3 separate regions of the Homo sapiens genome follow, and all the other regions are linked to region 3. Evidence: promoter capture Hi-C in 16 types of primary human blood cells and fetal thymus (Javierre and others, 2016). All regions are on one chromosome and are shown on one strand. The core of a region is centred on a gene start or on the middle of the fragment in contact, and the rest is flanking DNA. Distances in the headings are between cores, read along the strand shown.

Evidence for each region. Contacts are between HindIII fragments. The CHiCAGO score rates a contact against its expected background, and 5 or more counts as called.
Region 1: a fragment that was not itself captured here is called in contact with the fragment with the promoter of JPH1 in region 3 in 1 of 17 cell types (endothelial precursors); the score reaches 6.5 in endothelial precursors.
Region 2: a fragment that was not itself captured here is called in contact with the fragment with the promoter of JPH1 in region 3 in 1 of 17 cell types (endothelial precursors); the score reaches 5.7 in endothelial precursors.

What each region holds. Positions count from the first base shown.
Region 1 is chr8:74,082,523-74,086,248 of GRCh38, forward strand. It overlaps a transcript of LY96 not described here. Among named protein-coding and RNA genes, the nearest start is that of LY96, 93 kb to the left of the region's middle. The HindIII fragment of the contact is 1,464 bases long and covers 1,085-2,548 here.
Region 2 is chr8:74,108,814-74,112,413 of GRCh38, forward strand. No RefSeq gene overlaps it. Among named protein-coding and RNA genes, the nearest start is that of LY96, 120 kb to the left of the region's middle. The HindIII fragment of the contact is 1,516 bases long and covers 761-2,276 here.
Region 3 is chr8:74,320,065-74,323,630 of GRCh38, forward strand. JPH1 (junctophilin 1) reads right to left here and starts at 1,476. Exons shown (of 6, transcript NM_020647.4): 1 at 845-1,476. The coding sequence starts at 1,223. RefSeq lists an enhancer at 543-1,433 and a silencer at 1,527-1,626. The HindIII fragment of the contact is 5,373 bases long and covers 1-3,566 here.

The sequences.
Region 1 (3,726 bases), core at 567-3,066, 240 kb before region 3:
TATTGTATTGTTATTTAAAAAAACCCCAAACACCTGCAGGGGCGGAAAGATTTCCTTTTCTCACCCATCGTAGGTTCATAGCTGAGGCTCCTATAACAAAATAAGATTAACAAGCAAAAGGCATACACATTTATTTGATATAAGTTTTATATGAAGGGGAGACTTCTTAAGGAAATGAAGATTCAAGTAAACAGGTGCACTTGTGTATTGCTATGCTTAGGTTTGATGGAGCATGGACCGTCATGGCGAAATATGACTGGAGGGCAGAAGGATGTGACTGAATGATAATAAGCTAGGGGGAAACTTAGCAAGGCCTGTTTGTTCAGGTTCCTCTCTGTGTCCCTGTGTCTTCAGAGGTAAGGATGTTCCTTTCACCCCAGGTATAGGAAGGGTACTTTTCAAATGAGGGATTTGTGATCTGCTTCAGGGGAGAAGGCTGAGGGAAAGGTGAGAGAGGACTTCCTGCTTCTGTTGTTTTCTCAAATGCCAAGGTGTCATATTTTGGGGTAGTGTGTCCTGAACCCATTTTCCCCGTCCCCCTGCTGGATTAATTTGAAGTAAGTTCCAGGTATTATACAGATGTTTATATGTATCTATATATGTAAATATATATCTATAAATACACATATCATAAATGCAAATATGTGTAAATATTCCAGCATATATCTCTGAAAGTTAAGGACTCTTTATTTTTTAATTTTTATTTTTTTGAGACGTAGTCTTGTTCTGTTGCCCAGGCTGGAGTGCAGTGGCATGGTCTCAGCTCACTGCAACCTCCACCTCCCCAGTTCAAGCAATTCTCATGCCTCAGCCTCCCAAGTAGCTGAGATTACAGGCGCCCGCCACCACACCTGGCTAATTTTTTGTATTTTTAGTAGAGATGGGGTTTCACCATGTTGGCCAGGTTGGTCTCGAACTCCTGACCTTGTGATCCACCTGCCTTGGCCTCCCAGAGTGCTGAGATTACAGGCATAAGCCATGACTCTTTAAAAAGTAACTGTAATATGATGACCACACCTAAAAAATTATTGGCAATTCCTTAATATTATCAGATATCCAGTCACATTTCACTGATTTTATTATAAGCTTTTACTTTTATAGTTGGTTTGTCTGAATCAGGATTTTTGATAGGTGCCTATGTTGTGATTGGTTGGGATACCACTTAAATCTTTTCTTTCTTTTTTTTGAGACAAGGTCTTGCTGTGTCACCCAGGGTGAAGTGCAGTGGCAAAAATCACTGCTCACTGCAGCCTTGACCTCTCGGGCTGGAGTGATCCTCCTGCCTTAGCCTCCTGAGTAGCTGGGACCACAGGCATGTGCCCCCATGCCTGGCTAATTTTTTTTTTTAGAGATGGGGTCTCACTATGTTGTCGAGGCTTGTCTAGAATTCCTGGGCTCAAATGATCCTTCCACCTTGGCCTCCCAAAGTGCTGAGATTACAGGCGTGAGCCACTGTGTCCAGCCAAAACTTTTCTAATCTACAGGTTTCCCCTCATGCTCTTTTTTTTTTTTTGTTTCGTTGCAATTTATTTGTTGAAGAAACTGGATGTTTTCTCCAGTAGAGTTTCCCATAGTCTGGATTTTGCTGATTGCTTCCTCGTGATGTTTAACCTGTTCCTCTGTTCTCTGTATTGCTATCAAAATGATAGTTAGATGTAAACATTTAGCTTGAGTTTAGGGCAGAAATATCTCATAGGTGGTAGTGTGTGTACTTCTATCTGGAGACACAAAATGCTGAGTTCTCTCTCCTTCTATGATGTGAGCAGTCCTGATGCACGGATTAACTCAGTCCCTTAGCTCATTAGAGGTTGCTCAGTGGTAATACTCCAGTTCTATCTTTGCTTCCTACGCCTTAGCCAGAATACTGGTCTGGAAGAGAAACTTCTCTTATAAGCATTTGTAACTCTGAAGTGCAGTTTGTACAGGAAAGTCAGAATTAATGCTGGCTTCTTTCCCTTTATTAATAGTTTTTAAGGAATTTAAACACTGAAGACTTCAGAGATTGTACCCCTTCTTCCCCAACTAGTTTTCTCCTCTTTCCTCTGGCCGCATCTGTAATCCGGAATCTTGGTCTGTCTTTCAATCTCTCTCTCTCTTTTTTCTTTTTTTGAGATAGAGTCTCGCTCTGTTGCCCAGGCTGGAGTACAGTGGCACAATCTCGGCTCACTGCAACTTCTGCCTCCCAGATTCAAGCGATTCTCCTGCCTCAGCCTCCCGAGTAGCTGGGATTACAGGCGCCTGCCACCACGCCCGGCTAATTTTTTGTATTTTTAGTAGAGATGGGGTTTCACCATGTTGGCCAGGCTGGTCTCAAACTCCTGACCTCAAGTGATCCGCCTGCCTTGACCTCCCAAAGTGCTGGGATTACAGGCGTGAGCCACCGCACCCAGCCCTCTCTTTCTCTTAAATTCAACTTTGTAGAGCTTTGGAGAAAGAATTGCAGACTCATTCACACTAAAGTACAAATGACAAATAACAGGTTACGGTGTGATTACTCCAGATAGACTTTCTGTTTAACTTCCATCAACATGTTAAATGAGAGAAATGAAGCTTCTTGGATAAGAATAACATTTGTATGCAGCTACTATTATATGCCAGCTGCGGCAGTAAATGATTTATGTGTGTTGTCTCACAAAATGCCTACAACAACCCTGTGAGTAAGATAGTCTATGTTATTCCCATTTTACAGATGTGGAAACAAAGCTCAGGTTGTTTCAATAACTTGCCAACTAAAAGGTGACAGAGCTGAAACTAAAACCTATGATTGTCTGGTTTCAAAGCCAGACATCTTATTCTGGAATCACAGAGGAATCACATCCTTTTCTGCCTTCTTGGTATAGTTTCAGACATCTTGAACAAGGAGAAAAGGCTTTAGGGGAGAGGATGGCTTCCCAAGGTTGAAATCTTCCACTAGACAGACCCAAGTTACTCATTGTGTCAGTGTGTACAGAAGAGCCTGCCAATCACCCACGAAACCAAAGATTTGTCACCGGAGTGTCATTGTTGAAAATAGTTCTCTGCCACTGCAGCAATAGTGATGCCTTTGCCGCAGCCAGCTCCTTTCTGCTTTTCCAACTCTGCCTTCCTCTTGTTCACTTGTTCCAGTCACACTGGCCTTTTTCCTGTTCCTCAAGCATGCCAAGACTCCTTTCTATTTCAGAGATTTGCATCTACTGTTCTTCTCCTGGATCTTTTTTTAAATTTAATTTTTTCCAACTTCATTGCGGTATAATTGACAAATAAAATTGTGAAAGTTTGAGAGGTACAATGTGTTGATTTGATATACATATACATTGTGAAATCATTACCACAATCAAGTTAGTTAGCATATCTGTCACCTCACCCTAGTTACCATTTGTGTGTGTGTGTGTAGCAAGAACATTTAGGGTCTACTGTCAGCAAATTTCAAATACATAATACAGTATTGTTAACTAGAGTCACCCTGCGGTAAATTAGATCCCTAGGACATATTCATCTTATAACTGAAAGTTTGTACCCTCTGACCAAGATCTCCCCAACCACCCCCCTCCCAGCCCCTGGCAACCAATATTCTATCCTCTGTTTTCTATGGGTTCAACTTTTTTAGATCCCACATATAAGTGAAATCTTTCCTGGATCTTTCCATGACCAGCTTCTTGACATTCAGGTCTTAGCATAAATGTCACTCAATCGGAGTCATTCCCCTGATCTTTCTACCTAACATAGCCACTCCTTACCCAATCCTTG
Region 2 (3,600 bases), core at 269-2,768, 210 kb before region 3:
ATGAGATTCCATAGGGACAGTAAACATCCATTGTGATAGCCTGAAGCCAAAACACATGCCATCAGCAGGCAGCTGAATCCACAAATCCAGCTGCATCTGGCTGCTGGGAAGCATTTCACATCATCTTTGCCGGCAAGAGCTCAAACTCACTAGATTTAAATGAAAACTACTGATAGGAAATGCAGAGAACTCATGAAGGAATGTGTTCGGTAGAAACTTAAGTGCAAAGCTCTAAATGTTTTGTTTCTAGGGATCGATGAGAAGGCTTAAGGATCTAAAATCTGGGCATTTTAGATCTGCTTAGTACAGGAATAATTTGCGGCCTCAGGTTTAGAGTCATGTTTGAAAAACTGGCCCCTGGATTGCAGGAAAACAAAAAACAATATAGCCATTTGGTATGACTTGTTATAAAACTTAGCTGGTGGTTTTTAAAAATAGTTCCAAACCAAATTAGCTCTGGGCACCTGCTGGAGCTTAGTATGTTTTCAGATAGACTTGTTTGCTGTCAGCCAAAAAAAAAAAAAAAAAAATCCAACCCAACAAAACCTTCCACCCACATGGTTTGTTATAAAACCTGACATTACTAATGCTTTTCCAAGCCACTTTTCTTAGATCAAATCATTCAAATAAAAAAACATGGCATCTGACATCTTGAAAGAATGGGGCAAATTATTTGCTGTTAGATAACAGTTTCAGAAAGTCATGGGAAGAAGAAAGGTAGGAAATGTTAGAAAATACAATGTATTAATCACTGTGTGAAAGCTTTTCTAATTCTTCATGTGACTTCATTCCAACACGGATATTATAATATGGCCGGAATGTTGGGATTTATGGTTCTATAGGATAGGCCCCTTAAACCATCTGTTATTGCAATGTTTACCCAAGATGTGCGTGGATATAGCTGTTTCAAGTGATTTGGACATTTTGTTTATGTGACAGAAAAGATATAATTGATATTTAAATGAATAATGGCAACAATGACAGCAACCAAAGTGGCAAAAATCATTTTCTGGAGATTTTATTTTTTAGGCAATATTGAAAGCTGTCCATTGCTCACAGAGTATGTTAAGACTTGGATCAACATTAACAAATGAAAACCTCATTTCTGCAGTGCTCTGAGGGTTATTTAGGTTTCACAGATCTTATTTAAATTCTGATCTGTAGCAGTTCTCTGACTGCAGTTGGGAAAGAATCCTGTTTAATTATACATATGTTTTATATAGTAAAATGGCTTCAAAAAGCCTCTCTTACCATCACTAGTCTACATATCATTGAATAAAATACTACTGACTCACTAGTGATTCACCCTGCCTTCCTGAATAACTTTGAATAATTTAACTTCCTAACCACTGCAGGTTCTTGAAATCAAATTGGTATCTTAGAAGTCCGGATAGGAGTAATTATAATAATAATGGCAAGGATATTGATGACTACTATTTTTATTGTTACTACTACTTACTAAATGCCTGGTACTAAAATAGACACTTTATATGCATTTTTGATATACCTGATAACAGTCCCATAAAAGTTATTATTAGCCCATTTTATAAATGGGGAAACAGGATCTTAGAGTTTGCACAGCTTAAAAAAATGGAAATATTGGAATCTGAATCCAAAACAGCCTGACTCAAAACAATGTTCTTTCCATTATGCAAGGGAAAAAAAAAAAGGTTGAGTATCAGAGAGAAGGTAATAGGAGACATTTTCTCCAGGGAGTGACCCATAAGATGGCAAATGTGCTTTGCTCCCCATTAGAGGGTTCTGGAACCCCAGACATAAATATGATATAGAAACACTCTAATTAGCTCTAAATGAGGAGATGCGGGTCAAAACTTGCAGAAATTCTCTAGGCACTCTTCTTAACAGGTGTGGTTTAAATTAACCCAGACAAGCACAGTAAGAAAAGCTGCCTTATTTGTTGCTGAAAGGCCTGGTCAGATACAATCATTAAAGTGTGTGAGTTCTCTATTGAGTAATCCACTTTTGCTATGGAAATCTTAAAATAAACTCTTCTTTATGAATGTGAAGGCTCACTAATTCTCCTTTCACTAAACCTCAAACCCTGTAATTTTTACTAAGTATCCGAGAGTCTCACAAATGCTAATACCAGAGCATTTTAGTCTATCACAAAGATTTTGTTTTAAATTACCGTTGAAAAAAAATCAGATTCAGCATTTCCTATAAGTAATTGAAATGAAACTGGATTTCCCAAATAAAGGAAAGTATTTTAGTGGAGTTAATCCTTGATTTGTCTTATTGACAGCAATTTTTACTTAAGCTTTTGGCATTATTTTTCTGCACTGTTTTTTAAGGTTTAAGATGGGATTAAAGCATACATGGCATTGCTATTTATGTATTTAATTGTTTATCTCAGAGTATTTAGATCTCGGTTTAGCAACCTAAACCAATTATTTATTGGTCTTGTACTTTTTTTTTTTTTTTTTAAATAGAAAGGGCTCAAGCTTTGTATGAGTCCTTGTACACTTCAGGTGACCAAATCAGAACACCTGAAAAATTTGGTCGGCTTCATTTGCCACCACTTATTTACACAGCTGAGTCATGTATTAAGAATTTGAAAGCATCTCCCATTACTGCTTGTGTAGACTAAGTTAGTCCTCAATGAATTGGACCAGGGTTGAAAATAATCCTATTGTGATCCGTCTGAGGTTATGTAGGCTTGGCTAAAAATACCCTGCTACATCCTTACAGAAAATTAAAAAACGGTAAAGATGATGTAAGTAAACAACTGAATAGCAATGCATTTATCTCATGATAAATGTAATCAGAAGACCTCTACTAGCTGAAGTCTTTCTTTAACATCTCCAAGCTAATATGGACTTTCTCTTTTAAATTTTGCTGCCTAAAGTACTTAGGTCATATCTTTTTGTTATGCAAGGCCGTCTGCTAGAATATACCATTTCTTTGTGCATATTACAAAAAGGAACCCTGCTGATTGGACCAATTACAAAAAAGTACCCCTTGCTCTGGGTCTGGGTTAAGGTAGCTCTGTGCCAGCTCTGTGCAGACTGGATTTCAGCCCTGCTTGTTTTTCCTTGTGTGTGGTGACCTGTTCTTATGCTACTTATAGTTTGTCCTGTCTCACAGATATTTGTATTTTATCACTTACTAATTTATTCACTTGAATGTTTAATGAGCACTCATTACATACCAGGTATTCATTAAGCTCTGGAGAATCCAATGATTTATAAATAAGACCTGGACTCTGCCCTCAAGGAACTCATGTTTTAGTCAGGGTGAAGGATACTGTCAATCAGTATCCCAGCAGCAAACAGATGGCACAGTCATAGGATAAGTTAAAGAGAATGTAATAAAGGGGATTATTCACAGGACAGGGTGTAGGGAACTTACAAGGGATAGTGTAGGATCTAGGGGCTAGCAAGGCATGGTTAAAATGGTGGAGTGGGGGAAGCAGTTACTGGAACCCAGAGAGAGAGAGTGCTGGCTGGAGAGGGTCCCTGGCCAGAGCTAAACTTAGGAGGAGGGTTACAGCAGGGACTGGGGGGACTCTGCAATGAGAGAGGTGGGTGGAGGGAATAAACACCCCATTCTCACTCTACTGTCCTCTCATCTCCTCATTAT
Region 3 (3,566 bases), core at 226-2,725:
CAGTATTGCCATTCTCAGGAGTAGTAGCTGCTAACTTAGCAGCTATAGGAACACACCTGCTAATTGTATTCTTTAAAATGTAGACTTCATTACCCATTTCTAAAATATCTTCCTAGTAATTTGTCCAAGATCTCCAGGTCAGCAAAGACTGCTACTCTTTTAAGACCAATACTTTAAGAAACGGAATGAAAACTAGGAACTCACACACTCTGAACTCCACCTGCATCAGGTGGCCTTTCTGCTCCCATAACTAGGACGTTTCCAAATGCACCCCCAAATAAGGTACAATTCCCCAACATCCTAGTTACGGGGTTCTGGCTTCTATCTTTAGGCTACTGGAGGACCAGAAGCGAAATACGACTCCACGTGAAACCAATCCCGGGAGCGGTCAGCACGGACCGCCAACCTCACCCGCTCAGGGTGTTCGCTCTAACTCCACGGGAGTGGCGATTTCAAACCCGGCCGGGAGAGGGAGGGATCAGGAACGTAATGTGACGGGCTCAAGTGACAGCGTCCTCTCTCCAGCCCAACCCTCCCGGGCGGCGCTCCCTCCCGGTGGCAGCGCAGCGCTGGCGCCGGCCAGGTACATTCACGCCTAGCTCCCCTGAGTGTGGATACACGGCCCGCTCCAAGAACGGGGTCAGATCCAGCCCTCGCGCCCCAGTCCGGTCCCAGCGCCCTCTCTGGGAAAGGCGGGCGCGGGCGCGGGGGTGGGAGGCGCCCCCAGGTGTTTTGGCGGGTTTCCGGACACGTGCGCCCGGCGTCCTCCCCGCTTCCCCGCAGCCGGGGCAGAGCCCACCGCACCAGCTCGCGGAGCAGCCGAGCCGCCCGTTACGCCGCTCACCTCCGTCCCCGTAGGTCTCCACGCCGTACCCGTCTTGCAGCCCGTTACTCCAGGTACCCTCGTAGCGAGCGGGGGTGCACAGGCTCTGCCGGACCCCGTAGCGCCCCTTGAAACCATGTGACCACTCCCCCCGGTACATCCACTTGCCCTTCGTCTCCACCCCCAGCCCGTGCCGCTTGCCCTGCGCCCAGTAGCCCTGGTAGGTGTTGCCGCTGGGCCAGGTGTAGCCTCCGACCACCTCGAAGCCGTGCGACCAGGAGCCCGAGTACTCGCCCTGGCCCTTGGGCCCCGTGCAGATGCCATGCCCGTGCGCCTTGCCCTCCTCCCAGCCGCCGCAGTAGGTGCCGCCATCGTCGAAGTCGAACCTTCCGCCCGTCATTCGGGGGGCAGCCCCGGCGCGCTCCCCGCAGGGGCACGGACGCGGGCAGTGCTGGGCACGGCAGGGTGTAGCTCGGGGGTGGGGGCCCGGCGGGCGAGCTCACGACAGCGCCCTGGGCAGCTCGCGCTGCCGCTCGGCTCCAGTCCGACGCCGCCCCCGTCCTCCCTCCTCTTTTGCCGCCGCCACCGCCGCCTTCCTCCTCCTCCTCCTCCTCCTTCGCCGCCGCCGCCTGGGCCAGCGCCGCGCGCGAGAGGACAGCCCAGGTTCCCGAGCGGACCTTCAGCTGCTCCCGCCCGCCCACGTGAGCCGGGCACCGCCCCGCGCCCGCCCCTCGTCCCCTCCCCGGGCGCCGAGGCCCGGCCCCGCGGCGCTCCCGCCCCACCGGGCCCTGCCCCCAGCCCCGGGAGCCGCCGCTTCCTCGGCAGGCGGGCGCGCGCGGGGACCGGCTGGCGCGCATGTGTTCGCGCAGTGGGATGCCGGTGGGAGGGCGAGTGTACCCGGGGACGCACGAGAATCCCTGCCTGGAGATGAAGGCGCGGCTGCCTGTGTGGGGGCCGCTCGCGGGCGCCGGAGCCCCCGGTGTTTGTGTTTGGGGTTTTTCAAAGTGGTTAAGCTCCTGTGAGTGCGGCCACGTGTGTGTTGAGGGAAAACTCATTGTATGCGTGTTTGTCTGCATGGGGTTTGTAGTTGCATTGTTTTCGCATTCCAACTTGTGTACTGTTGCATTTGTCATGCTCAGCTGTCATCGTGAATTAATATCGCCTAGATATATGTATGCATGTGATGTAAATCTGCGGCAGCCTAGATATAATTGTGCAGAGTGTTCTTTTACACCTACCCGTTTCAAAGCACACGTGTTTGCATTTATTTAATGAAGACACTGAGGGTGAGCAGTACAGTTTGAAAAAGCACAGAATATATTGGTTAGTTTTTTATTAATAGTGATGAAGAGGATGTTTTCAATCGGCCTTTGCAGTGGTACAGGATATTCCTTTTACATTAGAGCCTGCCCCCTCTCGTGCCTCGTTTGTGCTTCTTAACAGCCTTAGAGATTCTTGAGCCTGGAGCTGTGTGCCCAACAGGTAGACGGCTCGGTCTGTGTACATTGTATAAGTGTCTGGAATGCACACCTCTCCACTGGTATCCACTGTTTAAGAAAGTAAATAGAGGTTTGCAAGGAGGAATATGGTAAGTAAAGCACTGCTCTAAACTTGCAAAGAAACTGTGACCTACAAAACCAGGGACAGATGTCAGCTGGTCTACTTTCTAGCTACAACACTGCTTTGTCGAATTCACTTTAGGCAACTCTTCTAAACTTTTAAACCTCCATTTCACCATCTTCTGAATGGGACTAACAAGATTTGCCTTTCTCTTTCTATATTCGGTAATAACTGAGTATATTGTGGCTGCAGTGCCAAACCAAAAATTAGAGATTTGGTAATAGGCAAGTTGGATCAGCATTGCCTCTGGTGAGAGAAAGCATTATTCTCCACCTCACCCTCAAAATACCCACGGGAGAAACTTCTCCCACTTTCACAGCCTAGGGTCTTAGTTTGGCCTCTCAAGGAAACTGATTTGGAGTGTATTCCTGCTATTTCTTAGGCTGAGAGGCCTTTGGGTGACTATGCGAGCATCAGAAGCTGCCAAAGGTTCTCTCACTAAGTATTTGATAATCAGATATAGATATAAGGACAGGTGTCAGGAAGACAGCCTGGGAAAAAGTAGACTAAACTGCACAGAAAAGGAACTGAAATTGACCTTGATTGCCTCTCTCTCAGGACGAGAGCCGACCTTTCCTACTTATCTGGCTGAAAGACTGAAAGAAAAATCTCAGTTTATGCAGAACCAAATCACCAAAGAGAATTAGAAGCCCTCATCCATGGCACTGCCCGCAGAGTTGCCAGGAATAGTGCTTACCCTAGTGGCCTGAAATAATTATGCATCTCTCGAAGCATCTTGTCCTGGACTGGGGATTGATTTAGGCCGCTGGGAAGATGAGGGCCAGGGCTTTGCGGCTGAGCCATAATTCCATTTCCCTGTTATGGGATACACCAGAATCAGGAGCTAATGTAGAAAGATGCATTCCCATATATTTTGAGGTTCTGTATGATATGAGAAAAAGTGTGGTTGCTCAAGCCAATATTTTGAATGGGGGAGTCTCTTTCTAAACTAGACTTCCTCATAGAGTAGTCTTTGTCCCTTTGCCTTTTTTTTTTTTTTGGATCCACCCAGTGTGTTAGGACCCATATATGTTCTTTAAGGGGATAAATTTTGGAAACCTTTATCTCTTTATTTATTACTCTTCCTAATTAGTTGTCATGCAAATGAGGGATTTTCTGGAAC